Regions from separate parts of the Homo sapiens genome. Here regions 2 and 3 are each linked to region 1. Evidence: promoter capture Hi-C in 16 types of primary human blood cells and fetal thymus (Javierre and others, 2016). All regions are on one chromosome and are shown on one strand. Each heading gives the region's core, a stretch centred on a gene start or on the middle of the fragment in contact. The rest is flanking DNA. Distances are from core to core; before and after follow the strand shown.

Region 1 (3,830 bases), core at 966-3,465:
TCAAAATTCCTGCAATGACTATTGCTAAAAATGCGGGTGTTGAAGGATCTTTGATAGTCCAGAAAATTATGCAGTTCCTGAGAAGCTGGTTGTGATGCCACGGTCAGATTTTGTGAATATGGTGGAAAAAAGGAATTATTGACAAAACAAAGGTTGTGAGAAGTGCTTTACTGGATGCTGCTGGGGTGGCCTGTTAACTACAGCAGAAGTTGTAGTCAAAGAAATTCCTAAAAAAAGAGAAGGACCCTGTATTGGGTGCAATGGGTGGAACGGGAGGTGTTATGGGAAATGGCAAGTTCTAATGATTAGAATAGCGTTTTACTTTAATTAATGAACTGTGGCAGGAAGCCCAAGGCAGTATTCCTCACCAATAACTTCAGAGAAGTCAGCTGGAGAAAACGACTGAAGAAAAGGCTAGCAGATGTTTAGGAAATCACTATAACAATCAGTTACTGGTTTCAAGTGACAAAATATATAATGTTTTACTGCTGTCACTGTCCATGCCTACAGATAATTTATTTTGTATTTTTGGATAAAAAGACATTTGTATATTCCTAATACTGGGTGCGAGAGCACCTATGGTTCCAGTTCCAGCTACTCAGGAGGCTGAGGGAGGAGGATCGCTTGAACCCAGGAGATCAAGTACAACTCTTTCTATATATATATATTTTTCATATTTTTACATAATAAAATTCTATATGGCAGTTAAGAGGAGTAACCTAACCATATATCAAAACATAAATCTCATATAATGTTGACTGAAAAAGAAATTTGAAAAATATGTCCAACCTAGTACCAGTTATGTAAATTTTAAAATACACCGTATGTTGCTTATAAAGATATGAATGTTTATAAACGTATAAATACAAGATCCATGTTTTTACATGGATTAGATGGACATACACTAAATCCATAAGAGCCTTGGAGAGAATGTTACACAATTAAACTGAAGGCAAATAGAGAAAGAACATCCATCTTATTTGTAATATTTTAGTTCTTGTATTTAAAAAATATTTTAAGGAAACATGAGAAAATACTGTCATTTCTGGGTTTAAAACTTGGGGTTTTGAAATTTGTAACCCAGCCGGGTGCGTTAAAGGCTCACACCTGTAATCTCAGCACTTTGAGAGCCCAAGGCGGGTGGATCACCTGAAGTCAGCAGTTTGAGACCAGCCTGGCCAACATGGGGAAAATCCGTCTCTACTAAAAATACAAAAATTAGGCAGCCGTGGCTGCAGGCGCCTGTAATCCCAGCTACTCCGGAGGCTGAGGCAGGAGAACCGCTTGAACCTGGGAGGCAGAGGTTGCAGTGAGCCTAGCTCGCGCCACTGCACTCCAGCCTGGGGGATACAGCGAGACTCTGTCTCCAAAAAAAAAAAATACATAAGTAGAAATAAAATAAAATAAAATTTGTACCTCAAATACTTTTCTGTATTTTTATTTCTCAAATTTAAAAAACGAGCTGTAAAAATGTTTCATTGCGAAACAAATTTCAGAAATTGACTCAAAAAGAATGCAAATACTTGAATAGTCTAATAACTTACAGATGTTCCAAAACATCAAAGATCCATTCACTCAAAAAGGCACCAAGCCCAGCCAGTTTTAAGGCTTTCTACCTAATGTTCCAGAAACAGTGTCCTAACTCACATAACGAGGGTAGCGTAATCTTGGTAAAAAAAAACGGAGCCAGATTATTAGCCTCCCCAATTCAGCAGTGTATTAAACCGCATCATCTTGCTTAAGGTTTATAAAAAGAGTGCATTCATGATTCATCAGGAAGGCAATTTATAAAGTACAGTAAAAAAACGAGGAAAGTCTTCATCTTTATAGCGTAAAGCTTAAAGTTCAGCTGACAAAAAAACAGTAAAATTTATTATGTATTTTTTCAAATCCTTGCAAACTAGGAATAAAACAGAATTTCCAAATATCATTAGAATGAAGAAAGAACATTCACCTTAGTCAAAAACAACTCAGAATGCCCACTATCAGGTTCTAGTTCACAGAATAAAATTTAAATGTTCCAAAGAAGAAAGCAAATGTCAATAGTCACGGATTATACAACTGTCTACTTAGCAATTTCAAGGAGAGCCACTGACAAATTTAGAATTAAGACCCAACAACAACACACTGGTCGCCCGGGACGCCAGCCCCACTCCTAGGCCTGCGCATGAGGGTGAGGGCATGCGCATGCGCATGCGCACGCCCTGCGCACGCGCATGGAACGCAGCGAAGGACTATGGCAGGGGAGAACTTCGCTACGCCGTTCCACGGGCACGTGGGCCGCGGCGCCTTCAGCGACGTGTACGAGCCCGCGGAGGACACGTTTCTGCTTTTGGACGCGCTGGAGGCAGCGGCTGCCGAACTGGCAGGGTGCGAGGAGGGGAGGGGCTCTGACGGGAAAGGGTTGCGGCTTTCTGAAGAAGTGCGGTGGAGGAGGGCCGGAACGGTGACTATCACCGCCCTGAGCCGGAGCAGGCGGGGTCCACTTGCAGATGATTGACAGCCAGGACGCCGTAATTGAGAATTTTCCTGTAGCTACAAGTAATGAGTGTGCCGGGGACGCATCTCCTTTGCCAGGGGGCTGCTCTGTCTCATGAGCTCCCTGACTGCTTACCATGCAAAGGCGTATCTTTTCCTGTCGCCTGTTAATCTGAAGAACACATGTCCCTGAGAGAAGCGATAGTATAACACGTTTGGAAACAAAATATTCCGGAAACATTGCTTATTAATATTTTTAAAGTATTACATATTAAAATTGCATGGTATTATTTGATTTACTCAGCACATAGAAAGCACCCTTAACAAACATGAAAGAAAGTTGTGTTACTGGAGTGGGGAAATATTTTTAAACCCACTGAATAGCATACTCTAGCACCAGCCAGTCCTCACATGTGGCTACAGAGCGCTTGAAATGTGGCTAGTGCTATTGAGGAACTGAATTTTTCATTTAATTGTTACCAAAAAAAAGTTACATGCAGCTAGCAGACAATAGTCTACCCTAGCACTTTATTTAAATGGATTTATTGAAGTGATCGCCATCAATTTTAAATTAATAGCAGAAGGAATGAATACTGACATTGTGATTTTTAAATGTAAGGAATTTGGGTTGTTAGATTTGTTTGAAGATAAGATGAACTGGGTTTTCTCAGGATGGAACAAACAGCTTTCAGGTTTCAAAGATCTATATTGTATTTATTTATCCCTCTTAAACTTGGTCATATTTCTCCAGTATAAAATGTCCCAGCTCTTATTAAACTAGTCTTTCATTGTAGATGATGGAACTTTTGGATCTACTGGAATATACAGTGGAACAGTACTGTTTTATAACTTGTCTTTTCTTCTCAAGATAGCCCAGAAAGATTTACAAGCACAAATTGCACTGCAAAGTATGCTGTAAAAGGAGCTGATTTTGTTATAAAGTCTTGGGTTATTTCTAGTTTGGAATTCTAATTATTTATGAGACCATGATAGTTATTTTCAAAGAGAAGCCACCTGGTGAGATTCTCAGACCTTACTACCACCTAATAAAGACTTGTCAGATGTGTAGACTGGTTCCAAAAGTTTAAAACCTCTGGAGCTTGTCACTGGGTAGTTGTTTTGGGAGTTCAGTGCTAAAAATTTCCCTAAATGCCATCAAGCTGATCTTTTTAATGGGGATGATTTATGCTTTTGATGCATGTATAACATTATAGAGGGCTGGCACTGTGGTTCGTGCCTATAGTCCTAACTACTTGGGAGGCTGAGGTGGGAGGATCACTTGAGCAAGCCCAGGAGTTAAAGGCAGCAGTGAGCTGTGATGGCACCACTGCACTCTAGCCTAGGTGACAGAG
Region 2 (3,830 bases), core at 1,052-3,551, 2.7 Mb after region 1:
CCACTCCCAAGGACGGACATCAGAGTAGCTTAAAATGTGAGAATAATTTTAGGGGAATTTTAGAGGTTTGGTTATAGACTTATGTTCCCCCAAAATTCATATGTTGAAGCCCTAACCCCCAGTACCTTAGAACATGACTGTATTTGGGTAGGGCCTTTGAAGAGCTAATTAAATTAAGGCCACTGGCGTGGGCCCTAATATAATCTGGCTGGTATTCTTGTAAGAGGAGGAGATTAGGACACACAGAAATACCAGAGGTACCTGTGCAGAGGAAAGAACGTGTGAGGACTTAGCAAGGGTGCAGCCATCTGCAAGCCAAGGAGACCTCTGAGGATTCCAATCCTATCTGCATCTTGATCTTAGACTTTTCTGGAACTGTGAGAAAATAAATTTCTTGGTTTAAGCCACCCAGTCTGTGATATTTTGTTATGGCAGCTCTAGTAAACTAATACAGATTTTAAATGTCATTAAATGTCAATGTTTAAGCTTTGACAAAATTTTCTAAAGGAAAGTATAAAAGGTCATTTTCTTTCTTTTCAGAGCCTGATGATTGCGGGAGGGGTAAGCCAGCTGCATGGGGATCATGATGCAATGCTGATGCAGGACAGACAGAAAGTAGATCTCTTCCATTTCTATTTTTTTTTTTTCTGTTGAGTTGAATGATCTTCAGACTGAAAATGAAAGAAAGGTCACTGGAAATAAAGGCCAAAGATGAGTGACAGGATTATAGAATAAGTCTTAGCTGTTCTAAAGAAGGACATATTATGTACCCCCACCCCCAAATTCATATGTTGAAGTCCTAACCCGACAGTGTCTCAAAATGTGACCATATTTGGAGATAGGGTCAAAGATGTAATTAAGGTTAAATGAGGTCATTAGCATGGATCCTAACCCAATATCTGCTGTCCTTATAACAAGAGGAGATTAGGGCACAGTAAGACACAGAGGGAAGACCATGTGAGAATACAGGGAGAAGGTGGCCATCTGCAAGCCAAGGAGAGAGGCCTCAGAAGTAACCAACTCAGCCAACACCTCGATTTCAGACTTCCAGCCTCCTGAAATGTGAGGAAATACATTTCTGGTGTTTGATCCATCCAGTCTATGGTAAGTTATGGCACCCCTGCAGGGTTCATCTGGCTCAGACTTAACGATTGCTTTTGGTGATATTTATAGGGCACAGATAACAGCCTAAACACAAGACGACAGAAACGCGGCCCAGCAGACTATGCATAAAATAGAAATGGGGTATCTGGACCAATTGGAGTCTGCAGTGGGATGCGGTTACTAAAACAGTCAAATGCAACATGAGGCTCCAGGCAGAGTAGTGGGCAACATCTCCCATGTTGCAGCAGTCAGAGCACACTTCGAGTACTGTAAAAAGACACAGACAAGCCAGAACACATTTAGAGAATGGCCAAGGTGTGGAAGGAACCAGAAACCATGCCATTATGCAACTGTTGAAGGAAGTGCCTGTTTTACCTTGTGAAGAGAAGACTCTAGAGGAAGAAGTAGCATGAAAACCGCTGGCAAATTTGTAAAGATCTGAAGTGTGGAAAAGAATTATTCTGCTTGGTCACTGGGGATACAAGGATATCTGAGTGGGAGTTTAAAGGCGGGGGATGTGAGCTTTAAATGGGATAAGAACATTCTAGTAACCAGAAATGCCCAAAGATAGAATGCACAGTCTGGAGAGCCAGTGAATATCTCACAAATGGAGACACTTGAAACTAGGATGGGGATGCTGTTGTAGGAATTCCAGCAGACAAGTGGTTGTTGGTTCCTTCCCCAACTTTGTAGGGTTATAACTAGGGATGTTCCTGCGTTTTCTGCTTGGAGGATCTGCAAGACACCTCAGGGCAGGAAATGGCATTAAATGCAGAACAGAGCTAGTGGCTGAAAAGCAAAAAGCCATCAGGATCTCTGAGTAGTGAAGGAACCAGAGAACATGCAGGCAATGTCCATCATTCTGACGCAATCAGCAGCATAATCATCTTCCCCCAGGAACATCTTGACCAGGGAATGTGTCAGTGTGGTGAATTTCAACAGTGGAAAGAGAAACTGCTAAATCTAAGAACTTTAATTTTTATAGATTATGATCTCATCTCTACAATTTTGAATTTCATGCTCAATAAAAGTTCCTTACTCTCTTTTTTTTTTTTTGAGACGGAGTCTCGCTCTGTCGCCCAGGCTGGAGTGCAGTGGCGCGATCTCGGCTCACTTCAAGCTCAGCCTCCCGGGTTCACGCCATTCTCCTGCCTCAGCCTCCCCAGTAGCTGGGACTACAGGCGCCCGCCACGACGCCCGGCTAATTTTTTGTATTTTTAGTAGAGACGGGGTTTCACCGTGTTAGCCAGGATGGTGTTGATCTCCTGACCTCGTGATCCGCCCGCCTCAGCCTCCCAAAGAAAAGTCCCTCACTCTTAAAGTTGCCTCCTCCTTCCCAGGGCTGGCTTCATGGGCATGCAACCCTGGAGAGTCTCACAGGCCCTGCGGTGGGAGGAGCCCCATGCTTGGTTTAACGCTCTGCCATTGCCATCTTAAAATTCTTAATTTAATTTTTTTTCTTTTTTTTGAGGTGGAGTCTCGCTCTGTCGCCCAGGCTGGAGTGCAATGGCACAATCTTGGCTCACTGCAACCTCCGCCTCCCAGGTTCAAGCGATTCTCCTGCCTCAGCCTCTGGAGTAGCTGGGATTACAGGCAGGAGTAACCACGCTCGGCTAATTTTTGCATTTTTAGTAGAGATGGGGGTTTCACCATGTTGGCCAGGCTGGTCTAGAACTCCTGACCTCAGGTGATCTGCCCACCTGGGCCTCCTAAAGTGCTGGGATTACAGGCATGAGCCACCAGGCCCGGCCTTAAAATTCTTAATAATGTAACAAAGGGTCTCACGTTTGCATTTTGCAGTGGACTCTGCAAGATTTGTAGCTTTGGACCACGTTTCTCTTTGCATTCAGATACCTTCTTTTTTGCCTTATTTGCTCATGCAGACCCGGAACAAATACGGAATTGCGGTGGGTAAATGTGGTGCAGAAAGTGAACAACTGGGTTTGTCCTGTCACTTTAGGCTTTTCCCTGCTGTCCCAGCTTCATGTCACTTACTTGCTATTAGATTTGGGAGTTCATTAGCTTCATTTTCCTGATGTATAAATAGGAATAATAGTAACAGCCTCTTTGGCTTTTGTAGGAAGTAAATGACATGAAGCGTATAAACAAATACTGCATGACAATAAATATTTGTCCTTATTTGTTGAGGACATCCAAAGGACATTCAGGGGCAAAAGTAATCCAAGAGTCAAGACTGAATGCCTAGTGCGGGAAAAGACACACAAGACAACATTTAGGGGAGCTGGTACAGAAATGACTTCCCAGGAAGGAAGTCTGTACCCCGCTGGCTGAGCCATCCTTCCCGGGCCTAGGCACCCTTGTCAGCGCAATGAGCAAGGGAGAGAAGGCAGGCTGCAGTGCAGCCCTCAGAAGGGCCAGAGCACTCCCTGGCTTCAGTCCTTCGCTCCAAGCCCTGTGTGGAGTGGGCTGTGGCTTGGTAACTAAATGCTACTTCAGGTCAAGAGCAGGGGATATATCTGGGCAGTTCTAGAGCATTCTAAACTATCTGGACACTAACTGGACAGTGGACGGTTTGTGTTTAATCCAGGAGAAAGTGGCATGGCAGAAGGTTCATTTCTATAATTCAGGACAGACACAATGAAGAACAAGGGCAGCGTTTGAGGTCAGAAGTCCTCATTTACGGGGGTCGAATACGAATGATCTCTCCTAATTTTTCCTTCTTCCCCAACTCAGATGGATGTTACATCCCTGCTTAACAACAAAAA
Region 3 (3,830 bases), core at 1-2,500, 2.0 Mb after region 1:
AACCTTTAGAGAGGAACAATGTGAAGCACACAACGAGTTTTCAAAAGCTTCCTTTGGGAGTGGGCCTGCGGTGGAATGGATTCCCAAGTACGCTGGCGTCTCACCAAAGGACAGGTGCAAGCTCATCTGCCAAGCCAAAGGCATTGGCTACTTCTTCGTTTTGCAGCCCAAGGTAGTTCGTTTTTACCTTATTTTTACCTAAAAATCAAGGCCTGGGCTTGCTACCTTTTCAAACAATTTTTGTTATACTTTCTTTGCTTTCCATATTAACATATCTTCAATTTCAAATTTGAACTCCTTTTCTTTTACATTAATTGGCAACTGCCTGCTTTGAGTTTAGTGTTTTCAGTTATGAATGAAGCTTAAATCTAACACTTCACATGCTTGCAATTGCTCGCTATTACTCTTTTATATGCAAAGAAAAGCTTTTTGGACAGTCAAGCGCTCCTCTGTGCGACTAGGCTTCACATACAGCTCATAGTTAGATACATTTTATATTCACACAGTAACCAGTAGTTTTGGAAAATAGTCTATGCATGGTCCAAAATACTTGTTACTGGGTAACTAGCAGTAGCAGGTGCAAACAGAATAATAGAAGTGGTAGTCTGAGTATTGATTATTTTTATGTTTGAAAACACATATTGAACTAGGAAAAGCATCATTTCTTTTGCTGTTTTGCTAAGGGAATACATCTGGATCTGAGACAGAAAATGGAATTTAATGTGATTGAGATGATCGTGTGTCATTAGCACCATAGGCTATGAAAATATTCCCAAGTTGCAGATTCAATATTCAGCAAGTGATTTCTGAAGCACTTACTCTTGCCAGATACTAATTATTCTAGGCTCTGAAGATACAGCAGTAAACAAAGTGACAAACAGCTCTACTTTCATTGACCTTAGCTGGAGGAGACATAGGTCAATAGATAAATAATTTTTAAAAATATCTAATTTCTTCAGATGTCTATACGTAGTACTGAAAAATATGCCAAAGTGAAGGGTAAATGCATGAAATGCATAATGTGTAGAGGGTACTGTGTTTAATTAGCATGGTCAGGAAAGTAGAGAGAAAATGTTTACACTTATCATTGCAGCATCTCCTTCCTTTGCTTGTATGTAACACTAGACATGTGTCCTTTTTTCAGGTTGTAGATGGTACTCCATGTAGCCCAGATTCCACCTCTGTCTGTGTGCAAGGACAGTGTGTAAAAGCTGGTTGTGATCGCATCATAGACTCCAAAAAGAAGTTTGATAAATGTGGTGTTTGCGGGGGAAATGGATCTACTTGTAAAAAAATATCAGGATCAGTTACTAGTGCAAAGTAAGTTTTAAAACACCTATTTGCAGACCTTATAATTTAAATGGGCCTTTCAACAGGTCTGGGAAAAAAATATGTCTCATAAAAGATTAATGTGTTTTTAAGCTAAATAATCTAATTAGCCAATGAATCAGAGATTTATGCCTGTTTTTGTCACCTGCAGACCTGGATATCATGATATCATCACAATTCCAACTGGAGCCACCAACATCGAAGTGAAACAGCGGAACCAGAGGGGATCCAGGAACAATGGCAGCTTTCTTGCCATCAAAGCTGCTGATGGCACATATATTCTTAATGGTGACTACACTTTGTCCACCTTAGAGCAAGACATTATGTACAAAGGTGTTGTCTTGAGGTACAGCGGCTCCTCTGCGGCATTGGAAAGAATTCGCAGCTTTAGCCCTCTCAAAGAGCCCTTGACCATCCAGGTTCTTACTGTGGGCAATGCCCTTCGACCTAAAATTAAATACACCTACTTCGTAAAGAAGAAGAAGGAATCTTTCAATGCTATCCCCACTTTTTCAGCATGGGTCATTGAAGAGTGGGGCGAATGTTCTAAGTCATGTGAATTGGGTTGGCAGAGAAGACTGGTAGAATGCCGAGACATTAATGGACAGCCTGCTTCCGAGTGTGCAAAGGAAGTGAAGCCAGCCAGCACCAGACCTTGTGCAGACCATCCCTGCCCCCAGTGGCAGCTGGGGGAGTGGTCATCATGTTCTAAGACCTGTGGGAAGGGTTACAAAAAAAGAAGCTTGAAGTGTCTGTCCCATGATGGAGGGGTGTTATCTCATGAGAGCTGTGATCCTTTAAAGAAACCTAAACATTTCATAGACTTTTGCACAATGGCAGAATGCAGTTAAGTGGTTTAAGTGGTGTTAGCTTTGAGGGCAAGGCAAAGTGAGGAAGGGCTGGTGCAGGGAAAGCAAGAAGGCTGGAGGGATCCAGCGTATCTTGCCAGTAACCAGTGAGGTGTATCAGTAAGGTGGGATTATGGGGGTAGATAGAAAAGGAGTTGAATCATCAGAGTAAACTGCCAGTTGCAAATTTGATAGGATAGTTAGTGAGGATTATTAACCTCTGAGCAGTGATATAGCATAATAAAGCCCCGGGCATTATTATTATTATTTCTTTTGTTACATCTATTACAAGTTTAGAAAAAACAAAGCAATTGTCAAAAAAAGTTAGAACTATTACAACCCCTGTTTCCTGGTACTTATCAAATACTTAGTATCATGGGGGTTGGGAAATGAAAAGTAGGAGAAAAGTGAGATTTTACTAAGACCTGTTTTACTTTACCTCACTAACAATGGGGGGAGAAAGGAGTACAAATAGGATCTTTGACCAGCACTGTTTATGGCTGCTATGGTTTCAGAGAATGTTTATACATTATTTCTACCGAGAATTAAAACTTCAGATTGTTCAACATGAGAGAAAGGCTCAGCAACGTGAAATAACGCAAATGGCTTCCTCTTTCCTTTTTTGGACCATCTCAGTCTTTATTTGTGTAATTCATTTTGAGGAAAAAACAACTCCATGTATTTATTCAAGTGCATTAAAGTCTACAATGGAAAAAAAGCAGTGAAGCATTAGATGCTGGTAAAAGCTAGAGGAGACACAATGAGCTTAGTACCTCCAACTTCCTTTCTTTCCTACCATGTAACCCTGCTTTGGGAATATGGATGTAAAGAAGTAACTTGTGTCTCATGAAAATCAGTACAATCACACAAGGAGGATGAAACGCCGGAACAAAAATGAGGTGTGTAGAACAGGGTCCCACAGGTTTGGGGACATTGAGATCACTTGTCTTGTGGTGGGGAGGCTGCTGAGGGGTAGCAGGTCCATCTCCAGCAGCTGGTCCAACAGTCGTATCCTGGTGAATGTCTGTTCAGCTCTTCTGTGAGAATATGATTTTTTCCATATGTATATAGTAAAATATGTTACTATAAATTACATGTACTTTATAAGTATTGGTTTGGGTGTTCCTTCCAAGAAGGACTATAGTTAGTAATAAATGCCTATAATAACATATTTATTTTTATACATTTATTTCTAATGAAAAAAACTTTTAAATTATATCGCTTTTGTGGAAGTGCATATAAAATAGAGTATTTATACAATATATGTTACTAGAAATAAAAGAACACTTTTGGAATGTGTGTGTCTGTTTTTTGAAGTGGGAATTCATTCCTAGGAAGGAAACCTGAGGCACAAATATTGAATCTGAAGACCGAATTATTTTCTTAAATTATTTGGCAATAAGATTTTGTTCTAGAGGAAGGTGAAGCAAGACGGCTGAATAGAAGATTTTTTTCTAATGAGATGTATTTCTTATATCCTTGGTATACATGATTGCTAAAAAGAAAGAAATTTATGATGTCATTTGTTACTAATGTATCTAATAATATACATCAGTGGTTGGCAAACTTCTTTTGTAAAAAGCCAAATGGTAAATATTTGCAACTTTGTCAATCCTGTCAATAACTATCCTGTCAATACCATCTATGTCACAA

What was found. The method cuts DNA at HindIII sites, captures the fragments that hold promoters and counts their contacts. A CHiCAGO score of 5 or more calls a contact.
Region 2: a contact is called between a fragment that was not itself captured here and the fragment with the promoter of HEMK2 in region 1, in 1 of 17 cell types (total B cells). The highest score is 6.9, in total B cells.
Region 3: a contact is called between a fragment that was not itself captured here and the fragment with the promoter of HEMK2 in region 1, in 1 of 17 cell types (fetal thymus). The highest score is 6.2, in fetal thymus.

Annotation. Positions count from the first base shown.
Region 1 is chr21:28,883,752-28,887,581 of GRCh38, reverse strand. It overlaps HEMK2 (HemK methyltransferase 2, ETF1 glutamine and histone H4 lysine), which reads left to right and starts at 2,215. Exons shown (of 6, transcript NM_013240.6): 1 at 2,215-2,370. The coding sequence starts at 2,237. It also overlaps the pseudogene HSPD1P7. RefSeq lists enhancers at 1,798-2,356, 2,302-2,361, 2,357-2,916. The HindIII fragment of the contact is 10,284 bases long and covers 1,840-3,830 here.
Region 2 is chr21:26,171,539-26,175,368 of GRCh38, reverse strand. The region is part of intron 1 of APP-DT (APP divergent transcript); the gene reads right to left. Among named protein-coding and RNA genes, the nearest start is that of APP-DT, 2.6 kb to the right of the region's middle. The HindIII fragment of the contact is 3,625 bases long and covers 489-3,830 here.
Region 3 is chr21:26,835,929-26,839,758 of GRCh38, reverse strand. It overlaps ADAMTS1 (ADAM metallopeptidase with thrombospondin type 1 motif 1), which reads left to right. Exons shown (of 9, transcript NM_006988.5): 7 at 1-172; 8 at 1,145-1,320; 9 at 1,481-3,830. The coding sequence ends at 2,180. Among named protein-coding and RNA genes, the nearest start is that of ADAMTS1, 7.6 kb to the left of the region's middle. The HindIII fragment of the contact is 1,646 bases long and covers 428-2,073 here.